Regions from separate parts of the Homo sapiens genome. Here all the other regions are linked to region 2. The links are contacts of gene promoters, found by promoter capture Hi-C in blood cells and fetal thymus (Javierre and others, 2016). All regions are on one chromosome and are shown on one strand. The core of a region is centred on a gene start or on the middle of the fragment in contact, and the rest is flanking DNA. Distances in the headings are between cores, read along the strand shown.

Region 1 (4,148 bases), core at 741-3,240, 570 kb before region 2:
AGGGACAAAGCCACCCTTCTGGCTGTGACTCTCAGTCCAAGGAGATACCAAGATGTGCATGTACTGGTAAATTAAAGCTACTAGATGAAAATCTCAGCTCTTGTTAGACAGTTGTCAATCTCAATTCTCTCCAACCTGACAGGATAACCTTTAAGGAATGGGCTACTATTTTTTCAGAAGGGAAACTTTCTGTGAGACAGGTGGAAACAACCTGCTTCGGATCACCCAGAGAATCATTTACCTTTATTAGTTTCTGCTGTGCTCTTCTCCCAACTTGTGAAGGAAAGATTGGTTCAGTAAAGGCCAATCTAGGCAATATAAAGCATCTGTACTGCCTCATTTTCACTTTGAAAAATTAGGTAAGAACACTCCAAAGATTCAAGACGCAGCAGCCAAAAGGATATCTATATTGCAAGACTGGGGGGCCCAGAATGACACTGAAAGGACGTAATTCCTCTGGGAAAGGGAACTGAAGAATTGCCGCTTTGCCCACCACTAACTAGGTTATAACAAGACAGGGAAGGTAGCTTTTTAAGGCTCCAGCCCCTTATTGGCCTCCTGGAGCAAATGGTGGAGGGAAAAGCAGAAGCTCCTGCCGGGGCTTATTAGGACATTGCTTCAGGCTTTCCTCCCGTGCTTGCGGTGATTGTCTGACATTTGTCCATCAATCTTGGTCTAAGAAACAGGTGGGGGAGGGGACAGATGGTTCGCATTTTACTTTAGAGAAGTATCCCTGACACTGACTGATATCAGCTGCTTGCGTTCTCCACTGATGGCCAAAATTAAGCTTCAAAAGCCTTCCTGAAGGACATTCTGTTATCTTAATTCATTCATAACTGGTTATCATGCGCTTTGCATAAACAAACACACTAGCCTCTGAGGACAGAGTGGCAAATATGTTCCCTATGTCCATGGGCTGATTAATCTTGTACATCTCTGGGGCTCAATTTATTCACACACTATAGTTGAATCCCCTGAGGTCCAGGGTTGTGGCTATATAGGTCCTTGGGCCTGACGGTAAGGTAAGGTGCTGCATATGAGTATTCTCTAACCTCTAAGAAAGCCCCAGGAAGGCAGGCAAGTCACAATTCTCTCCTGTGAACATAAATAATCGAGAGCAACAAATGGGGATTGCCTTTTGGGCAAACTGAGTCTTACAAAATAAATACACCATTATGAAGTGTCTACTATGACCCAAGTATCACATCATACTGCAGCAACTGGAATTGTGACTCTATTACTCTAAGACTCCCTGGCTTCTTTTCTCATGGCATGATAGTTCCCATAAGTTTAAACTTAACCATGCCTATTTAGAGGGCAGGCAGTGAGTAATAGCTCTGGAATGATTAAAACCAGTCCAATCCCACAGTGGAAGGGTGTGTGCGGAGTGTAATTCTGGCCCCTTTAAAAAGAGAAGCAAGTTTTCCTTGTCTTTTGAAGCCTGCTAAGTCGTGCAAAGAGGATAGTTACCCAGAAGGGAGTGGGTTTTGATTAGTGAACTGGGTCCAGGCTGCCACAGCGAGGGCCACAGCTCTGGAGGGACTGGCGCGGGGCAGAGATGCCCACAGGAGAGAAAGACGACACTGACTCCACCTCAATGGGTGTTTAAAAAAGGAGGGAACAAGGAAGTCCCTCACTTCAAGGAGCTAGGAGGACGCGAGTCCGGCAAAACGGGTCAGACGCGGAGTCCCAGGCTAAGAGGATCATCCGCCACTCTCCCCGGGAGTCCTGCTGAGAGACTGCGACTCCGGAAAGCACCGAGGGAACGACCCTAGGGCAGGGGCTGTCGGGCCTTGCTCTGGGGCGGAGGGGTCGCGCGGGACCGGAGGGAGCCGGGACGCGGCACTGACACAGGGCCAGGGGCCTCGCGGGTCCGCGGGTCCAGCAGCTCCCGCCGCCTGGGCCTCACTCACCAGCTCATGGTCCCGAACCTGCGTCTGCCGCCGGGGTCCTCAGCCACAACTCGTTTCTCTAGGGTCACTTCCGGATTCAACCAGTCTCCAGGAAGTGACGTAAGCCCGCCTCTCTGCCCGGAAGAGGCGGTTGGGAGGCGGAGCCCGGCGCGTTAACCCTTCTGCTGCTGCGTGCTCGCCGCGGAGTTTCCCTTGCCGGCGACTCTCTGGCTCTGGCCAAGCGCTTAGACACACAGGCTGCAACGGGGGATGAGGGGAACCTCTGGGGGCGTTTTCTGCCTTCAACACTGACTCCTAAAGATCTCTTCACCTGACCATGCAGGGCCCTTAGCCGGGCTGTCCCCTCTGTCAAGTGGTTTCTAATCCAGAGACAGTGGCAGCAATTGTCTGTGGGAGAAGAAGCCATTTGGGATGGAGAAAGTGGAAAACTTACATTCTCTGAATGCTCTTTCCTATCTTTTACAGTTTGTACACCACACATGCATTACCTGTTACAAACAAACGGACGTTTCCCTTCCAAGATGGCACAGGGCTCTGAATATCAATAGATAGGTGCTTTTCAGGTTGGAATGTTTCCTAGAGTTATTCAACACAATAAGACGCAGAGTATGAGTTGTTCCCTGCCTTTCAGCCCTTCCCTTTGGTCTCCTCTACAGGACTCAAATGATGTAAATTGCCCCATTCGTTCTATTCCTTCATTTAACTAATACTAGTTGCACTAATATTAGTGTCAGGTACCGAGCCAACCTTAGGATACAGCTATCTCAGAGAAGTATCTGCCCTGCTCTTGTTCCTTCCCAGAGCTACTTTCCTGGAGGGAGAGACAAGCAGGCAATTATAATCATGCTATAGGATAGGATAGAATGAGGTGTGGTGGCAGCCTAGAAGGGGACCCTGAAGTAGCACATGGGGTTTTGGGGAAGGCTTCCAGGAGGAGCCAGTGTGTAAGCCAAGCCCTGAAGGCAGAATCGGGGCTAGCCAGGTGAATCTGAGATGAGGGGTGACGAGGCTCCAGGCAGAGGGAACTTACCATGGCTAAGACACAGACAGGACCAAGCAAGCAGCTGACTTGCCTCGGGTCTCCCAAAGTCAGAATTCAGGGCCTTAGTGGCTCACAAGTTGCCTGGGATTCTGGGCCGACTTGGTTTCCTCACCGCTAAGTACCTCCCTGCCTTGGAAGAGAGACAAGAAGGCAGTGAGGCCCGTGCAGGTGCTGCTGGGCCCCCAGTGACCTTCTCTCTAGGAATTCTCCTTCCTCAGATGGACCGGGATTGTTTCAGGGACTGCTTAGGGGGTTGCTAATCAATGACCTAGCGGGAAAAATATGACCAATGACCTAGAGCAGAAGTAGTGTATGATTTGTTTTGACCTCCTAGGGTGGAGTAGAGGGCTTGAGCAGGAGAGGTAGGAGGGTGGGCCACAGGATGCAGTCTCTCATTTGTGTTTTCTGTTTCCATTCTTGAGAGTCCATAGTTTGACTCAATTGACGTTTCCAATGGAGGTTGGATCCCCAAGCACATCATGCAGATCAGCTTCATTACCATGTTGTTCCTCAGGAAACAGGCCAAAATGAGCACAAGAGCAGCCTTGAAGAGTAAAGAGGAAGAGCAGAAGTCACCAAAGGGTAGCCTGGGCAGAGAGTGTGGGTAAAGGGAAAGAGAGAGTCCTTGCTGCTTTGCAGAGAGTGTGACGGATGGAAGGGCTGTTGTGGGTTTAGGAGCCTCCTGGCAGTTAGCACCTGTGAATAGTTTTCCCACCTGCTTCCTCCCTTCCCCATGTTCTGCCTCCCTCAGTTATGCCCCACAGGGATAAATATTTCCAAACGTTTTAGCCTAGGTAACTGCTATATCCTAGTAGAAGTCTGTTTCAGGGCTGGAGGGCAGCAGACACATCCTAGAGGACTAGAATGGATAAGTTCTGGACTACAAGTCTGGAGGAGTCTGCGGCTCTATTTCCAGTTCAACCTTTGACACTATAACTGACCTCAGATAAGTCACATCCCCTTTGTGGCCTTAGTCCCCTCATCTATAAGATGGAGTGGGTAGATCACATCCCAAAGTATCCAACATTGCAAGGTTCCAAGTCAGCTGTCTTGTTGACTCTAGAGGCCCTAGGGAAATAGGAGAATGGGAAAGGCAGGTGAACAGAGGGGCAAGCCCAGAGAAGTGGGCAGGTCTGAGGAACTGGTGATATCTTGGATAAAGCTAAATATGAATTTTTCTGGGGCTGTGCTGT
Region 2 (3,762 bases), core at 8-2,507:
TCATAATAATTCTCCCTTTTTGGAGACCCAGGATTCAGTGTGGGCTCTGCCCAGAGCTCAGAGATCCAGTTAAAAAAGAATTGGTAGTCCCTATCTAAATAACAGTGGTCTCCTTATACAATCCAGTGATAAATTTCTATAATTTTATGTTCAATTGGCAATTAAATCTGTTTTAATTTCCCTCTAGCTCACAGAATTTCTCTTCAGACCTTATAATGTAAATTTTGCTATCTGACTTTCACCTGAGTTGTTTCCTTTAATATGCAAATTTAAGACTATTTAGCTGACTACTGCCTAGCACTGTGAAACAGGTTATCAAGAATCTGAAAGTCTAAGATAAAGAAAAAAGGTTTTTATGAATCTGTAAGATGTACTTCTTCTATCAGCATGCCTAATACATCTATGTATTTATATGTTATGTATACAATGTTGCACTCCTGAAAATATATCAAAGAGCTCTAATTAATTGTCTTAAAAAATAAAAGCATTTACATCAAATACTTTATTAGAAAAAGGAAAGACTAGTCAAATGCTTTTTCAAGTTATGTGACTTAAGTAAAATCTTTAATAAATAAGCTATCTTTAAAATTATTGGTAAAGTAATATTAGAAATGTCTTAGGAATTGCCAGCATACATTTTTATTTGCGTTTATTAATCAAGCAATTTCATACTTAACCCTGCCAAATACTATTAGGTGTCAAAATTTGGCACAGGCTATAAACCCAGCCCAAGACAGAATGATCTCTGCTCGTGTAACCATTAATAAATAAGACATTGATACTGGTTTAATGAAAATAGCTACATCTTGATTTAGTAAAATTACCATAACTTCTAATCTTGTGGCAGTCTAGGCAGTCTAGTCCACAGGCAGTAAGGAGTTTTGTTTTGGGAAAGGACTGTTATACTTTGTTTCAAAGTTAAACTATAAGTAAACTTGCATGGGAAGAGAATGTTTAATTTTGTGAAAAACGACCAAACTGTCTTCCAAAGTAGCTCTTAGAGACAACCTGTCCACAGAAGAACGCAGCAAGCCCCCTCCCCTAAATGCCCTGCAGCTTATTTCTTCTGAGATGCTGCCCCTACTTCACGTTACCAGAACTTAGGTACAGCTGTATCCACCCCCAGGCCAAACCACATCCTGGTACTCTAAGCCAGGTGGGGCAAGAAGTGACAAACAACTGCAGGATGTAGACTAACCTCAGAAAGCCCCTAGGCCCTCAAAGCCCTATATAAGTCCCTCACCTTAAACACCCTGGGCTGCCTCCTCTGACTGTTATGCAGCAGGCCGGCAGGTCAATAAACTTGCTTGCCTGACTTTGAGTATACTCGTCTTTTCTCTTGGCCAACCTTACGGTAGCTGTACCAGTTTGCATTTCCACCAGCAATGAATGAGAGTTCCTGTTGCTCTGCATCCTCACCAGCATTTGGTGTGGTCAGTATTTTGGATTTTCACCATTCTAATAGGTGTGTAGTAGTATGCTATTCTTGTCTAATTTGCTGTTCCCCAATGACATATGATGTTGGGCATATTATCATATACTTATTTGCCGTTGGTAGATCTTCTTTGGTGAGAGGTCTGCTCAGATCTTTTATCCATGTTTTAACTGGGTTATTCTTTTTCTTTTTTTTTTGAGTCTTAAGAGTTCCTCGTGTGTTTTGGATAACAGTCCTTTATCAGAGATGTCTTTTGCAAATAGTTTCTACCAGTCTGTGGCTTATCTTCACATTCTCTTCACAGTGTCTTTCAGAAAGCAAATAATAATAATAATAATAATTACGTCTAATTTATCAATTATTTCTTTCATGGATTATGCTTTTTGTGTTGTATCTAAAAAGTAATCATGATGCCCAAGGTCATCTAGATGTTTTGTCTTCTAGGAGTTTTATTGTTTTGTGTTTTTACATTTAAGTCCATGATCCATTTGAGCTGGCTTTTGTGAATGGTGTAAGATCTGTACCTGGATTTGTTTTTGTTTTTGCATGTAGGTGTACAGTTGTTCCAGTGCTCATTGTTGAAAAGACTCTTTGAACCATTGTATTGCCTTTCTTTTTTCGAAAGGTCAGTTGACTGTATTTACATGTGCCTATTTCTGGGATTCCTATTCTGTTCCATTTATCTATTTGTTTATTCTTTAACTAATACCACACTATCTTGATTACTGTTGATTTATAGTAATTCTTGAAGTTGGGTTGTATCCGTCCTCTGACTTATTTGTTCAATATTGTGTTGGCTCTTCTGGGTCTTTTGCCTTTCCACATAAACTTTAGAATTAGTTTGTTGATATCCACAAAATAACTAGCCATGATTTTCACTGGGATTTCACTGGATCTACAGATCAATTTGGGAAGAATTGATATCTTGATAATATTGAGTTTTCCTGTCCATGAATATAAAATGCCTCTGTATTTATTTAGTCCTTCATAGATTTCTTTCATCAGAATTTTGTAGTTTTCCTTATGTAGAATTTGTACATACCGTGTTAGATTTATACCTAAGTTTTATAGGGGGGTGCTAATGTAAATGGTATTGCATTTTTAATTTCATATTCCACTTGATCATTATAGGTATATGGGAATTGACTTTTATACATTAACTTTGTATCTGCAATCTTGTTCTCATTGCCTCTTAGTTCCAGGACATCGATTTGGCAATTCTTTCATAATTTTCTGCATGGATAATTATGTCTTCTATAAAGACAGACCATTTTATTTCTTCCTCTTCAGTCTGTACAACTTTTATTTCTTTTTCTTGGCTAACTGTGTTAGCTAGGATTTCCCGTACAGTGTTGACTAGGAATGGTGTGAGCAGACATTCTTGTGTTATTCCTGATTCCACTGGAAAACGATCTAGGTTTTCACCATTAATTCTTATGTTGGCTGTAAGGTTCCTGTTTATGTTCTTTATCAAGTGGAGGATGTGTCCCTCTATTCCTAGAGTGCCGAGACTTTTTATCATGAGCTGGTGTTGGATTTTGTCAAATGCTTTTTCTGCATCTAGCAATATGATCATATGATTTTTCTTTAGTCTGTTGGTGGATTATATTAATTGATTTTTGAACATTGAACTAGCCTTGCCTAGCTGTAATAAATTCCGCTTTAACCTGGTGTACAATTCTTTTGATACATTGTGGGTTTCAATTTGCTAACATTCTATTGATGATTTTTGCATCTATATTCACAAGATATATTGTTTTGTGTTTTTTCTTTCTTGTAATGTCTTTGTGTGGTTTTGGCGTTAGGGTAATCCTTGCCTCATAGGATCAGTTGGGAAGTATTCCTTTTGTTTCTATCTTATAAAAGAGATGGCACAGAACTGGTACAACTTTTTTCTTAAATATTTGGTAGAACTTATCAAATGAAACCATCTGGGCCTAATGCTTTCTGTGTGGATGTTGTTAATTATTGATTCAATTAATTAGATATAAACATATTCAAGTGGTCTGTTTCCTCTTGTGTGTTTTGGCAGAGTGTGCTTTCAAGAAATGTGTCCATTTCGTCTAGGTTATCAAATTTGTGGACATACAGTTATTCATAGTATTCCTTTATTATCATTTTCATGCCCATGGGATCTGCAGTAATGTCCCTTATTTCATTTCTGATATTGAGTATTTGTTTTTTCTCTTTGTTAGCCAGGCTAGAGGTTAATCAATTTCATTGACCTTTTCAAAAAATCAGCTTTAGGTTTTGTTGATAATCTTTTGAGTTTGTTTTCAATTTCATTGATTTCTGCTCTTTTTATTATTTTTTCTCTTCTGTTTAAT
Region 3 (3,596 bases), core at 605-3,104, 640 kb before region 2:
CTACCCTAGCTCAGCAACCCCTCACCCTCAATGCTGACATTTAGGCCACCTTCCAGGTTCGTGGGGAGAGCAAGGTGGAGCACAAAGGATTTCACAGTGGGTGAAGGCCATCATGCTTCGGGGCTTGTATTGAATCGTTCTCCAGGAGGAAGAAATACCAAGTCATTTAACAGCCCCGGGCTGCGCCCACACCCAGCTACCCACCAGCAGATAAACCACGTTCTCTCAACTCTAGGGCCATTGTTAGTTTTATTTCCCCCTTCTAGCCTAATGTCTTCTTTTCATTCCACAGGATCGAGTCCAGGGACCTCCCTGAAAGGCCTCAGTGCCGCCCCCACCGGAAGACCTTTATGCCATCATTAGTGGTTAAGAAGCAACGAGCAAAAAACCTTTCTGTAGGCTGAGACCTCTCGGTGCACCTGGTGACCCTGGGTGGAGGGGACTTGCTGTGAAGTCTTCCTCGCCCTCTGCCCTCTTGCTGCTTCTCCACATTGCCAGGAAAAGCTGCTGACGCCTGCCCTCCTCTCTTGAGTCGAGGGCTGAATCTTTCTCCTCTAAGCAGTCTGGTCAGGAACCTTGGTTTCTTGAGAGGCCCCCAAGATGCCGCAGCTCCAGGGCTCTTCCTCCTCACCAGAAATCCCTGGGCTTCCACAATGTGAACTCACTCATTGTCAGGTGTCCGTGGAGTGTTTTTGGCATGGTGACCTGTCTGGGCCCAGCATGTTGCAGATGTGTATTTATGCGCAATGGTATGCATATCTCTGTGTGACTGTCAGTGTTGCAAGCTGGCTGGATCCAACCATCTCTTCTGAAATAATGCATCCAAAGGGTTGATATTCTGGGGGAGGTCACTGCAGAAGGATGGAACTGACCTTTATTCCCCAGTGGGCAGTTACTGAGCTTTCCTCCTCAGAGCCATGCTGGCAGCCCTGGGACAGAGAACGGTGTGGCTTTGGCTGCCTCTGCATGGAATCTTGCCCCGGACTCCTGAAGACTGCACAAGGAATGAGGAAGATCAGGGACAACCTGGGAACTGAATAACTTTCAAAGCCAGTGCTCAGCTTCTCTGCTCCGTACTAGCGTTTACAGGTCTTAATTCAAACCAGATGCCTGTACTAGTTTTTAGACCCCAAGTCAACCTTTCTGAGCCACAGCTTCCCGCTGGGAATAATGATGCCTGCCCTATCTACCTCACAGACTTGTTATGAGGATAAAGTGAGATTAAACTGCCTCAAAGTGCTTTGTAAACCTCAGGTGAATAGGAAAGGGGAAAGTAAGGCTGGAGTGATGATGGGGAGGTCGGAGGATAAGGGGGGGCTGGGATTGCTAATGGGGACTAAAATGGCCAGTCTCCTGGCAAGATTTTGAGCAGGTCATTTCATTGAGGCCTCTTAGATTTCATATTTGAGAATTAGGGCACTGATTCCTGACTGGCTAGGCATGGTGGTCACTGGCTTGAGTCAGACCAGGAATGTCTCTTAGAAATGGTCACTGATAGGCATCCTTCTCCTCCAGTCAGGAGGGGCTGGTTTCCTTATCTGTTGCAGTCTCGACTGCCAGAGGGAGGCGAGCGTGGTAGGCAGTCGGGGGTCCCTTGTGTTTGGGGGGCCCAGCTCCCGCTTCCTTTGAGCCCGGAACCAATGATCCGAAGCCTTCTTTCCTGATGGGATTCTTTAGCGAGGACACTACCGAGGCGCGACTTCCTGACGCGCATCCGATCCGGGAAGGCGCACTTCCGCTCCCCAGTTGCCGCGGGATGGCAAGCCGGCGTGGGGGAAGGGAGAGGTCGGCGGAGACGAGGGAGGGACCATATCCGGGAGAGCGGCAGCTTCCGACCAGTGGTCGCGCTTCCGGAGAGGCGCTTCCGGTGGCGGCGGCAGCAGCGGCTGTGGTGGTTCCGGGTGTCTTTGTCCCCCCGGTGTCGCTGCCCTGGCCCGCAGGTGGGTTGGGGGGCCCCCTGCCGCCCCTCTGCCCCTTCGCCCCTCCGCCCCTCCGCTGGCCGAGGGGCTGCGAGGGCCGGGCGGCGAAGATGCGTGGGGCGCGGAAGGGGCCGAGCCCCTCTTTGGACTGCAAGTCCCGTCTCCCTGGCAACGGCCTCGGCCTTGGGGGCGGGCGGGAGGAGGAGAAACCGCGCGCCTCAGTCCTCCCTTGGTGGCCTCGCCGCGGCTCTGCTGGGAGACCCGGCGCTGGCGGCTGCTGAGGCCGGAGCGGAGGGCCCGGGAGCGTGGGAGCAGGAGGGTGGCGCGCAGCCGGTTTCGCGTTTGGTCGGCCAGGGAGCTGCCTTCCCACCAGCCGGTCGAGGAAACAACGGGTCGGGCTTCCGGGGAGAGGGCCCACACAGTCTCCTCGCCGGCACCGGCCTCCTCCATTTTTCCGGGCCTTGCGTGGAGGGTTTTGGCGGATGTTTTTGAACGAAGGAATGTCATCGGGGCTCTCTCGAGCCCCTCACCCCGCCAGCTACTCTGGGGGTGGCGTGGCATAGTGAGAGGAGCGCTAAGTTGTTGGGAGGCCTGGGTGTGAGTAGCAGTTTTGTCACTACCTGGTTATGTGGCCCCGGGCAAGTCTCTTGATCTCTCTGAGCATCAGTTTCCTTGTCTGTAAAACAGCATGACAGTATCATGCACCACTAGGTTATTGTCAGGGCAAACTGGAACAATGTAATTTCTTGTTTCATTTCTTTCTTCTCTATATTCTCTCCATCCATTGCTTTCATTCATTCTTATTACCCACCTCCCTGTTTTCCGAAATATCCTTACTTAAGATTCTCCACTTTTCCGGGTATAGATGGAAATTTCCCTTATAAGCTGTTAATTTCTTTCTTTTTGGATTGAAGCCTTTTCCCCACGACTCTGAAAGAGGACAGCGTTCCCAATGTCCCAGTTTAAGCGCCAGCGGATCAACCCGCTTCCAGGGGGACGCAACTTCTCAGGTGATCACTGTTCTCCCTACCTGGCCTCATCCTGGGAAGTATGTGCTCTGGAGTTAGTTTGGGGTTTCCCTGGTGGAGAGCAATTTGCTGCTGATGTTCCTCTGGAAAGCAGGAGATGCCCACAGTGATTGCCAGTGAAGCTCTGTGGAGGAGCTGGCTGGAGCTGTAGCCTTTGGATTTACCACATCCTTTGGTTGACTCGTGCTTAAGGTGGTAGGGGCGGTTCCTGGAGATTGCTTCTCTTTCCCCATAGGCACAGCTTCAACATCTCTTCTGGGCCCTCCTCCTGGTTTGCTCACTCCTCCTGTGGCCACAGAACTGTCCCAGAATGCCAGGCACCTTCAGGTAGGTTCGGCATCCCTTGTAGTAAGTTTCAGCCCTTGGGACTGAATGCATGGAGGCCTGGTGCTCTTTTTCTCTTACATAATAGTGTTTATCATTCCTGATCCCTCTCCTGGTAGTGGGCTAGTATGGGGTTGCCCAGATAGCCTTCAGACTGGGGCATCTTCATTTCTCGCTCCAGGGAAATCTTTAGCTTACGTCTTGGAATTAATGAACTGGAAATCCCAGAAGAAGCTTGTGGGTCAAGAACCAGCTCAAACATGCCCCAACCCCTAATGATGGAGTATGCCCACCACACCTGTACTTCACTCTGTGCGAACTCTTG

Evidence for each region. The method cuts DNA at HindIII sites, captures the fragments that hold promoters and counts their contacts. A CHiCAGO score of 5 or more calls a contact.
Region 1: a contact is called between the fragment with the promoter of BIN3 here and the fragment with the promoter of CHMP7 in region 2, in 3 of 17 cell types (neutrophils, fetal thymus and naive CD4 T cells). The highest score is 11.6, in neutrophils.
Region 3: a contact is called between the fragment with the promoter of CCAR2 here and the fragment with the promoter of CHMP7 in region 2, in 4 of 17 cell types (fetal thymus, activated CD4 T cells, total B cells and 1 more). The highest score is 8.5, in fetal thymus.

The regions. Positions count from the first base shown.
Region 1 is chr8:22,667,131-22,671,278 of GRCh38, forward strand. It overlaps BIN3 (bridging integrator 3), which reads right to left and starts at 1,991. Exons shown (of 9, transcript NM_018688.6): 1 at 1,914-1,991. The coding sequence starts at 1,921. RefSeq lists a silencer at 1,691-1,850 and enhancers at 1,714-2,343, 2,101-2,160. The HindIII fragment of the contact is 6,679 bases long and covers 786-4,148 here.
Region 2 is chr8:23,242,380-23,246,141 of GRCh38, forward strand. It overlaps CHMP7 (charged multivesicular body protein 7), which reads left to right and starts at 1,258. Exons shown (of 11, transcript NM_152272.5): 1 at 1,258-1,465. RefSeq lists an enhancer at 950-1,451. The HindIII fragment of the contact is 15,350 bases long and covers 1-3,762 here.
Region 3 is chr8:22,602,903-22,606,498 of GRCh38, forward strand. CCAR2 (cell cycle and apoptosis regulator 2) reads left to right here and starts at 1,855. Exons shown (of 21, transcript NM_001393997.1): 1 at 1,855-1,940; 2 at 2,834-2,929; 3 at 3,183-3,274. The coding sequence starts at 2,872. C8orf58 (chromosome 8 open reading frame 58) reads left to right here. Exons shown (of 7, transcript NM_001013842.3): 7 at 293-1,240. The coding sequence ends at 404. It overlaps LOC107986876 (a long non-coding RNA gene), which reads right to left and starts at 2,098. Exons shown (of 1, transcript NR_160769.1): 1 at 231-2,098. RefSeq lists enhancers at 1,573-1,682, 1,689-2,189 and silencers at 1,853-2,152, 2,213-2,272. The HindIII fragment of the contact is 4,257 bases long and covers 1-3,503 here.